3 separate regions of the Homo sapiens genome follow, and regions 1 and 3 are each linked to region 2. Evidence: promoter capture Hi-C in human tissues and cell types (Jung and others, 2019). All regions are on one chromosome and are shown on one strand. The core of a region is centred on a gene start or on the middle of the fragment in contact, and the rest is flanking DNA. Distances in the headings are between cores, read along the strand shown. Region 1 holds the start of NTNG2 (netrin G2). Region 2 holds the start of MED27 (mediator complex subunit 27). Region 3 overlaps MED27 (mediator complex subunit 27).

The links. The method cuts DNA at HindIII sites, captures the fragments that hold promoters and counts their contacts. A contact is called where the count stands out against the background at its distance.
Region 1: the fragment with the promoter of NTNG2 here is called in contact with the fragment with the promoter of MED27 in region 2 in 1 of the 25 tissues and cell types used here (dorsolateral prefrontal cortex).
Region 3: a fragment that was not itself captured here is called in contact with the fragment with the promoter of MED27 in region 2 in 2 of the 25 tissues and cell types used here (adrenal gland and liver).

Annotation. Positions count from the first base shown.
Region 1 is chr9:132,160,146-132,163,410 of GRCh38, forward strand. It overlaps NTNG2 (netrin G2), which reads left to right and starts at 1,913. Exons shown (of 8, transcript NM_032536.4): 1 at 1,913-2,094. It overlaps LOC124902291 (a long non-coding RNA gene), which reads right to left and starts at 1,555. Exons shown (of 2, transcript XR_007061826.1): 1 at 1,471-1,555; 2 at 313-458. The HindIII fragment of the contact is 9,283 bases long and covers 1-3,265 here.
Region 2 is chr9:132,078,131-132,081,270 of GRCh38, forward strand. It overlaps MED27 (mediator complex subunit 27), which reads right to left and starts at 1,737. Exons shown (of 8, transcript NM_004269.4): 1 at 1,512-1,737. The coding sequence starts at 1,714. RefSeq lists an enhancer at 1,634-1,913. The HindIII fragment of the contact is 14,332 bases long and covers 1-3,140 here.
Region 3 is chr9:131,983,134-131,986,269 of GRCh38, forward strand. All of the region lies in intron 3 of MED27 (mediator complex subunit 27), which reads right to left. Among named protein-coding and RNA genes, the nearest start is that of MED27, 95 kb to the right of the region's middle. The HindIII fragment of the contact is 4,884 bases long and covers 1-3,136 here.

The DNA.
Region 1 (3,265 bases), core at 663-3,162, 82 kb after region 2:
TAGAGGCACACAATGGCCCTGTTTTTTGACCCCTCTTTGAAAAAAGAAGGATTTACCGTTCATATCTCACATATGGGGAAACTGAGCCCCAAAGCAGTCTGGGCCGTGTTCCAAGTTCACCAGCCAGCCAGGCCAGTGAGAGAGCATCACCCAGAAACCCAAAAGCCCTGCCTCCCCGGCCACAATCCTTAGCTATGTGACCTTGGGCAAGTTACTTAACATCTCTAACTTGAGGCTTTGCTACTAGCAGTGAAGTCACAGGGCTTTGGCGAAGATTCAGTGAATAATGCACACAAACTGGTTTGCATGGAGTCTGGCATAAAACAGGTGTTCAATAAATATATTATTATTATTATTACAGCAGATGACAGTCTTTAATTCTGCATCCTCTTCCTGTTTTGTCACAAGATTCCAAATATTATTCAGCAGTATAACTCCGTCTCCAGTTTTCAGGGCAGCTGAGAACAGGGAAGGGTTAAGGTGGAGGTGAAGGGTGGCAGCAGGGCGGGGCACTGAGGTGCCATGTCTTGCTCCATTCCCAACACCCTCTGTGACCTTGGGCTGGTCTCTCTCTCTCTGCCTCTCTCTCTGTCTGTCCTCAGGCCCTTTGTTCTTGATGCATCCAAATGACAGTGCTGGCTGCTCAAGGCTGCAGTGAGCCCACCCCAGGAGGCCAGGAGTGTCCGAAAACCACATGTGCTTCTGGAAGATGTGGAAACTCTCCCAGAAGCCCTGGGAGGCAGGCTGGCAGGAAACCTCCTGGGGATCAGAGAGCCCAGGGCTGCCGGATATGATATTGTGAACTCGGTGGCCTCTGCCCGGGGCTGCTGCTACCGGAGCCCTCCCACACCTGCCTCCCATGCTTGCAGGGGAGGGAGACAGAGAACCCCTCAGCCAGGCCCCTCCTGCCCCACTACTCTGCACTCCCTGCAGAGCTGGCTTGGCTTCGTCAAAAGCAGGGCCCATCAGGGTGGAGGCGGCGATGTGTCAGCTGGTATTCAGGCTCTGGTTGTGCGCTCAGATCGCTCCCCCTCCCCATCTCCCCAAATCCACCCACCCACCCCGGTACCCACTGCTTGGGGCCTTCTGGGTGGCAGCACTTCACAGAGAGAGACCGAGGAGCAGCCCTGAGCCCTTGGCTGTGGGGGGTGGGGGAACTGACTCACTTGGCCCCCCTCCCTCGTGCCGATGGGGCAGCCCCCACACCCATGGGCGCTGGCACCCCGGCAGGCCCCCGGGTTTTGGAAGAGGAAGCTGCAGCCCGGCTGCGCCTGACCGGAGCCGGCTGAGGATGCGCTCTGGGCGCAGGGACCCGCTGGCCCCCGGGCCGGGAGGCGATGTTTAGGCAGCGACCCCCCAGAGGCTGCCGGGGCCACCCTGGCCACGGGCCCGCCGGGACGCCCCTGCTCGCCGCGCCCCTCCCCGGGCCGTGGCGCGTCCCCCGAGCCGCGCAATATTTCCTTCCTGCACCTTTAAGAAGACCGTTGCTCCGTGGTGGGATGGTGTGTTAAAGCCACACAGAGGAAGTTACGCAGCCCGGATCAGACCGAGAGATAAAAGCCCCGATGGTGATCGTGAGTGATGGCAAGAGGATTTAGCCTCGGCATTAACTTGGAGCGGAGTGCAGGGGGGCAGTGAAGCGCCCGCCATCTGGCCCGCGCCGCGCCGGGGGGATGCCCCGGCTCCCCGACGAGACGCCGCGAAGCCCACCCGGGCCGGGGGCTGCCCGGCGCCCGAGCGCGGGTCCTCCCCGGGCCGCCCAGGGGGGCCAAAAAGTTTGCACTTGTTAGCGGCGACCTCCCGCTCAGCCCGGGCGGGCGATGCGGGCGGCGCGGGCGGCCCCCTCCCCCGGCCCGCGTCTCCGGGACGGCTGCGGGCGGCCCCCCCGGCGGCCGGAGGGCTCCCTGGCCCCGATCTGACGGCGGCGGCGGCGGCGGCCACAGCGGCGGGAGCGGCGCGGGGAAGGAGCAGCGGCTCGCAGCCCTCGGCCCGCGCCCCCACCCAGCGCCAGCCCGAGGGGGGAGGCGCAGCGCCGGAGGGTGGCGGTCCTCGGCCCTCCCAGGTCTCCGCGCCGGGAAGCCGCTCCGAGCCGGGGTAAGGCGGGCGGGGAGAGCCCGGGAGGCGGGCGGGGGGAGAGGCTGCAGCTTGGCCAGGCCGGTTTCATTTTTAAAGGGCTTCGGTGACCATGCAGGCTTGCCCGGGCCCGGGAGCCACTTACAGCGGCCCGGCAAAGGCTCGGATGCAAAAGTTGTTTGGTGGCGGCTGCTACGAGCTGAGAACTGGAGTCGCCCCAGAGGGGTGTGTGAGGGTGCGTTCTTAGCAGCATCTTAAAGGGGTAGCTTGTCTTTCTGGCCAGCTTCCCCCGGGTCCTTTCCGTCGTGTGTGTGAGAGTGTGTGTGTGTGTGTGTGTGAGAGAGAGACAGAGTGTGTGTGTGTGTGTGTGTGTGTGTGTGTGTGTGTGTGTGTGTGTGTCGGGGAGGGATGTTGCAAGGATGCTCGGATGTGTCTCGGAAAAGGAAACTAACCCTGCTCCCGCGCCTCTCCCCCACCCCAATTCCACCGCCACCGCTTAGAGCCACCCCCATCCCGTGCCCTCCCATCTCTCTGCAAACTGGGAGCCTGTGAGTTGCACAGAGAAACTCCCGGCCAGTCCGGCTGGAAACTTCTCCCGGCGCCGGGAGGGGGTCGGGAGGTGAGGGGGCGCAGGCACTGGTTTGGGGCCGGCGTGGAGTCGAACCTGGAACTGAGCGGCGCGCAGGTGGGGGGAGCAGAGGCGGCGGGAAGGCGGGAAGAGAGGACCGCGGGCTCGCGGGGTCCGCCCGCTCCGGAGTAAGTTGGCCGTCTGGGCTGGGGGCGGCGGCGGCCGGGTCGCCACAGGCGGCAGCGCCGGGGCAAAGGATACAGCCAGTTCCTGGGCGCCCTGCTCTGTGTCTTTTAATTAAGAGAGGCAGTGCCGAAAAAGGGGGCGCCTCAGTCCCGGCCGGGCCTTTATTACGGGCTTAATTATTAATTGCTGCCGTGGCTTGCACGCAACTTTGGGAAGACGAAAAGCAGCTGCGGGGCTGCCGGGTCGTCGGTGTCCTAGGCACAGGGCTCGCAGCCGGCCCGAAGCACTGACTCGACCCTGGCCCCGGCCTCGACCCCGCCCGCGGCCCGCCGGGACCCACCCGGGAGCTGCTGCTCGCGCCCCGCCTCCCGCGCCCAACTTTCCAGGGCTCCCGCGGGCGGGGACCCAGGGGCCGGATAAAGGGCCCGCTCCGGAGCG
Region 2 (3,140 bases), core at 487-2,986:
CAAACAAACACACTTCAGTCTAGCAGGAAAACCCTAGAGAAGCTTGGGAAAGCGAGCCAACAAGAGCACATTCCAGGAGTACGTTCTGAGGGGCCAGTCCCAAACTGCCAACAAAAGACTCTCTAGGAACAGCTTCTTATGCCACATTCATTTTGGAATCATCAGCCACCTTCTTCTTGGCACTACTGTACAAAGATTTAAGAAGGCAAAAGGATAATGTCAGCACTCTTAAAGTTTCTATTTAAAATGGTGAAGGGTTATAATATCCTGAACATTACAAAGGGAAGTAACTCGGAGAGAAAATGGAAAGAAAACAGAAGATAGGGAAGAATAGCCAGTGCATCCCCTGAAGCAGAGAAAGTATTAACTGGTGCTCGGCGCGGTGCCAGAGAACAGCAAGCGGATGTGGGCGTTGAGGAGGGCTGTGTGATTTACGGCAACTACTTAGGGGGAAAACAAAAAGGCACCCATCATTTGGCCACCTCCTCCTCCTCCTCCTCCATCCTACCTCCTCTTTCCATCTGGTTACTAAGGAGACCAAGTTGAAAAAACAAAAATCCAACCAGTCCAGAAATCAAAGGATGACTAGCTCACCAAATGCTTTCCCCTACTCAGGTCAGTTCTGAGAAGTAAAAGGCAAAAATCCTGAAATTCTAACCTTCCTGGGAAGGACTGACTCTCTTATAAAACAGAAGGCAAGTTCAGGACCTAAGCAATCAAGAAGTGCCTACTATGTGCCAGGCCCTTTACAAACATCCTCTCATTTAATTCTTACAACACTTAAAAAGTGTAAGTGAAGAAGGTACTTTGTAAGGAAGAGGAGGAAAAGTGGAATCCTTAACCCTAAAAGACTACAAATTAAGAAGCAGGGGCGTTAAGCATAAGTAATTAAACTGGTTAAGAGATTAGAGAGTAGGTCTCTACTGCGGAAGGAACTCCCACAGGAGTGGGAGTGAGGAAACTGATCAGGTGGTTTGGGAGCGGTTAGGGGAAAAGGTGAAGACAGCTCAAGGCCTGGCCGGTCCGTCGTGGTTGCGGGTGGGTGGTGGTGGAACTGATGAAGTCCAAGTTCAGGGCCGGGGAATTGGGGCTAATCAGATCGGGTGCACTTGGGTTTGGAGCCGACTGACCAGGTCCTGTCTGTACTATTACTACATTCGGATCAGACGTGATGGGGCACAGAGGGCCTACAGGTGAGAAACCTGCCAAGCTCAGAGAAGTGGAAGTTCATGGGAAAAGCATGCCTCCTTGTTAGGAATGGAACCGCCACAGAAGAGGTCGAGGATGGCGGAAGACAAACAGGACCAGGAGGCCAGGAGAAGCAAGACGAGAAAGCGGGGATGGTGTTAAGATGTCCCTGAGGGACAGGCAGAGGCTTGGAGAACAAGAAGAGAAAGAACAGGGATCAAGGGAAACGGAGAACAGCCCCTGCCTGGGAAGACTCGAGCGACGTAGGGGCAGGGTCGGAGCGGGGCCGGTCCCCGACCCCGGCCCCTTCAGCCGGTACCTACTTGAGGTCCCGGTTGACCGAATGTAAGTTGTCCTGGAAGTGCGCAATAAAGGCCTTCTCCCGGCCCTCCAGCGTCTCCTTGTTCCGCATCCCATCCTTCAGGCAGTCGAACACCCTGCTCACGCTGGAGCGCAGCGCCTGGATGGCACTAATGGCCTGGGAAAAGGCCTCCAGGTTCACACTGACATTTATCACGTCCGCCATGTTGCCGCCGCCACAGCAGCTCTCCAAAGCCGGCTTCGCAAGCAAAAAAGCCGCGCTCGCTGATGACGTATCTCCGAAGACCTCTGGGAAATGCAGTTCGCGCGGGGCTACCCAGAAAGCACTTTCGAAAAAGGGTTTCCCCTTGAGCTAAACTAATGCATGGGCAGGAAAGTGATTTTTCTCAACTTGGGGAAGTCAGGTTGCACTCCCGGTTTGCTTAATGGTGACAAAGAAATACAGAAAGTTCCCGCATTTCCCCAAACTTGCACTCTGGGGAATCATAGGGAAAAGAATTGCTCAGAGCAATAGTGTAAAAAGGAAAGGAACATAGCCCATTCAATAAAATGAGTCCATATTCATAAATAAAGCGGGGAGAAGGAAAGTTTCTTCTTTCCAATAGAATGCCAGCTCATAAATGCAGAAAGAGTGATGGAATTAGAAAATTGCCATTTGACAGCCATTAGAATAATTGATTCAGATAGAAATCGATGGATGCTAAAACTAGTGGGTGAAAGTGTCAGAAAAATAACAGGCTTTTTAGGTAATCTCAAAGTATCGTCCCCCAAGATGCTTATTAATTAAGAAGAGGAAAATAATGATCCAGAGATTCCACTTCTGGGCATATACCCAAAAGAAGCGAAAGCAGGGACTCAATACCTGTACACATGTTCATAACAGCATTATTCACCAAATAGCCAAAAGGCAGGGGAAACCCAAGTGTCCATAAACTGATGAATAAACAAAGTGTGATACTGGCATACAATGAAAAATTCTTCAGGCTTAAGCAAGAAAATTCTGACATATGCTACCTGGAGGAAACTTGAAGACATTATGCTAAGTGAAATAAGCCAGTCACAAAAAAACAAAATTCTGTGTGACTCCACTTATATGAGGTGTTTAGGGTAGTCAAAATGTTAGAGACAGAAAGTAGAATGGTGGCTGGTTTACAGTGAACACACACCTCTGAAAATAACATACATAGCATAGAGGTTGTGGAAGAAAGAGAAGGTTTGGGATTTAAATAAAACCAACAAAATGTTGGCCAAATCTGGCTTTATGGAAAAATTCAATGTCTCTTTGTCCTGTTGGCTATAGACAGGTTTCTGAAAATTTATTATCTTTTTACTAAAGGGAACCTGCCCAAGTCCTCATGTTCTTTCCTTAGAGGAGCTGGGGTTGCATAGCTTGGAGCAGAGAAGAGGAGAGCAGGAGGCAGATCATGATTGTGACCTTCAACTCACCTTCATGTCAACCCAAGACAAGAGTCCTCCTTGGTTAACTAGTGGCAATAACAATAACCAGTTGTAGGAAGGCTGTAGAGAGGAAGATTTCAGCATAATATTGCAAAGGGCCATATTTAAGTCTGTACTTAAAGAGTACAGACTTGGAAAAGTTTTACAGCTGGATGGTGGTGATGGCCATACAA
Region 3 (3,136 bases), core at 582-3,081, 95 kb before region 2:
TCTATGCTTCCTCTCTCTTTACAATCATGTAAGTTTTATTTTTATCCCCATTTTACAGATGAGGAAAAGGATTAAAGTCACCTGGGCCAGATCTTTTCATGAAGAAAGCTACCATGGATTTTCCCTCACTGCATGGCTCCTGTTACTGGATTCAATAAAACTTACTCTTCACATTTCAAGAACACCACACTTTAGAAGGAAAATTTTAAGACATGCACAAAAAACTTTAATGATGGCTAACCTGCCAAGCAAACTTTCTCAGTGTTTTGTCATTCTGCAAACTTTCTGTCACTAAATAGGGAAGAGGGTCCTTTTATTTCAGCAGTAGCCCCTATTTCAAAGGCTCCTGTAATACTTTACAAAATTGGCTTTGACTTTGGTGAGAGACAAATGTATGGAAGCGTATTACTATATTAAACCTAGTCTTCCCATCCAATCATTAACAATGAATATTTTTAGCATCTAAAAATGTGCATTTCAGGCAGATATGTAAATATTTAGCACTATACTTTTGAGACAACCTTTCATTTTCAATCATGCAGAGGTAGGTGTTTTCACTAATAGTCTAATTATATCTCATATTTTCATTCTACACAATATTTTGCTTCTATATTTGAAATAACCGAATTCATCTGTGCTAATAAATGTTCTAAATGGATATCTTAATAATTGAAATTAGCACATACTATACCCCTCAAAACAATTTACAAAACAAGAACTATTGTTTACATTACACAACAAGGCAAAACCAGCCATGATAGTAGCTTGGCTCCAGGTCACATATCAGGTGAAATTCCTCATGCAGCTCCAACTGATCCAGCTGTATTTGATCAGAGCCACTTTCTGACCTCTCGTCTCAAGAGTAAGTCCAAGCCTTGGTGTTCACGGCCTCAACTTGTCTTTACCCCCTTATGTCACTGTTCCCCATCCTCTGTGTTGCTCTGTCTGGGACACCTACCCTAGAGACCTACACAGCTAACTCCCTCCCCACATTTGCTCAGATGTCACCATTTCAAGGCAGTTTCCCTGACCGTTCTTTTTAAAGTCGCTGCCCACCTCCCACAGGCCCAGCTCTCCTGGCTCTTCACATCCGCCCCACTTTCCCCGATAGCACTAATCACCTCCTCACATTCTGTACATGACTTCTGATTGTTTGTCTTCCATATTCTCCACTAGAATGTAAGCACCACAAGGGCAGGAGTCTGTTCACTCAAGTGCTCAGGGCTCCTAGAACAGTGCCTGCCATTTAGCAGGCACTCAGATGACTATGAACTCAAGATCGACTTGTTTGCCAGGCACTGTTCTAGGCACTGGGGTTACAGCAGTCACCAGAACAAACAGGGTCCCTCCTTCACAGGGATTTGGGCCAAATAACAAAACAAAACACAACATAATACACCCATAAGAGAACAGCGGAACAGAGCGCTACAGAGATCTTAAAAAGGTGTATGATACAAAGTGACTGGGGAAGCTACTTTAGATTGGGTAGTCAGGGAAGGTCCCTCTGAGGAGGTGTCATTTCAGCTAAAAACTACAATAAGGAGAAAGTATTTAAATCTTCCACATGCTTCTCTGATTTTCCATCTTGCTGGTCTGCTGTGAACTCCTGAGGTGAGTCACAGTCCCTGTTTCTCCTGGCGCTTCCTGACATTTATACATTTATGCTGGTATTTTGAGCCTGGGACTGACCTGTTATGGCCTCACTGTGGACTTACATTCTGTCCTTATAAAGCTTCTCTTTGCAGCCATTTATACCATATGCCTTGAGCTCAACCTTATCTAGTATTTCTATTACAAGTCCAGTTTTCTTTTAGTTAGAAATACAGGATCTGTCTTTGTCTAACAGCTGTTTTATGTTGTACATAGCAGGGTTTAATTTTGGGGACAATCTGAGTCTTTTTCCTGTAGTAGATATTTATCTCATTGGTATTTATTGATATTGCAGGTGTGTGGCCTAATTTGGTGGTCTTATGAGACTGTTTTGTTTTATCTTCTTTTATGTCTTATTTCATGTGTCCTGCTCTGGATGCTTGCTTTGGTTCTTTGCCTTTTGCTTTGCGGACTCTAAGTCTTTACTGTTTTCTTCAAGACTCTGGCATCCCCTTTCTTTTTAGTGCTTTTTAAGAATTTTCTTTCAAATTTTACATAATACACTAAAACCTCTATTTCTTAATGTTTAGATATATCTCCTGCTCCCAAATAAGATGAGAAAATTTGTCATCCCAATCTCCTCATTCTATGTGCTTTGTGAATATTTTTGCATTCCCATGTTTTATAACACAGTCAAGTGTCGCATAACAGTGTTTTGGTGAGACCGCATATATGACAGTGGTCCCATAAGATTATAATGAAGCTGGAAAATTCCTATCACATAGTAGCCATGGTAAAGTCACAGCACAACACATTACTCATGTGTTTGTGTTTAAGCTGGTGTCAACAAACCTACTGCACTGCCTGTCACATAGAAGCACAGCCTATACAATTATGTATAGTACAGAGTGCTTGATAATGATAATAAATGACTGTTACTGGTTTATGAATTTACTGTACTATAATTTTAATTGTTTTTTTTTTTTAGCATATACTACTTCTACTTATTAAAAACAGTTGACTGTAAAACATCCTCAGGCAGGTCCTTCAGGAGGGATCCAGAAGAAGGCATTGTTATCATAGGAGATGACAGCTCTGTGTGTTACTGCCTTTGAAGACCTTCCACTGGGACAAAATGTGAAGGTGGAAGACTCTGATACAGATGATCCTGACCCTGTGTAGGCCTAGGCTAATGTGTGCATTTGTGTCTTTGGTTTTAGCAAAAAAGTTTAAAAAGTAAGAAAAAAATAAATAAAATAAAACAAAAATAAAAAATAGAAAAAAGCTTTACAGAATAAGAATATAAAGAAAATCCTTTTGTACAGTTGTACAATGTATTTGTTTTAAGGTAAACGTCATAACAAAAGAATCAAAAAGTTAACAAAATGTAAAAGTTTATAAAGTGAAAAAGTAAGGCTAATTTATTACGGAAGAAAAAATGTTCTTACAGATTTAGTGTAGCTTGAGTGTACAGTGTCTGTAAAGTCTACAGCAGTGTATAGTAATGCCCTACACCTTCACATTCACTCACCATGGCTCACTGACT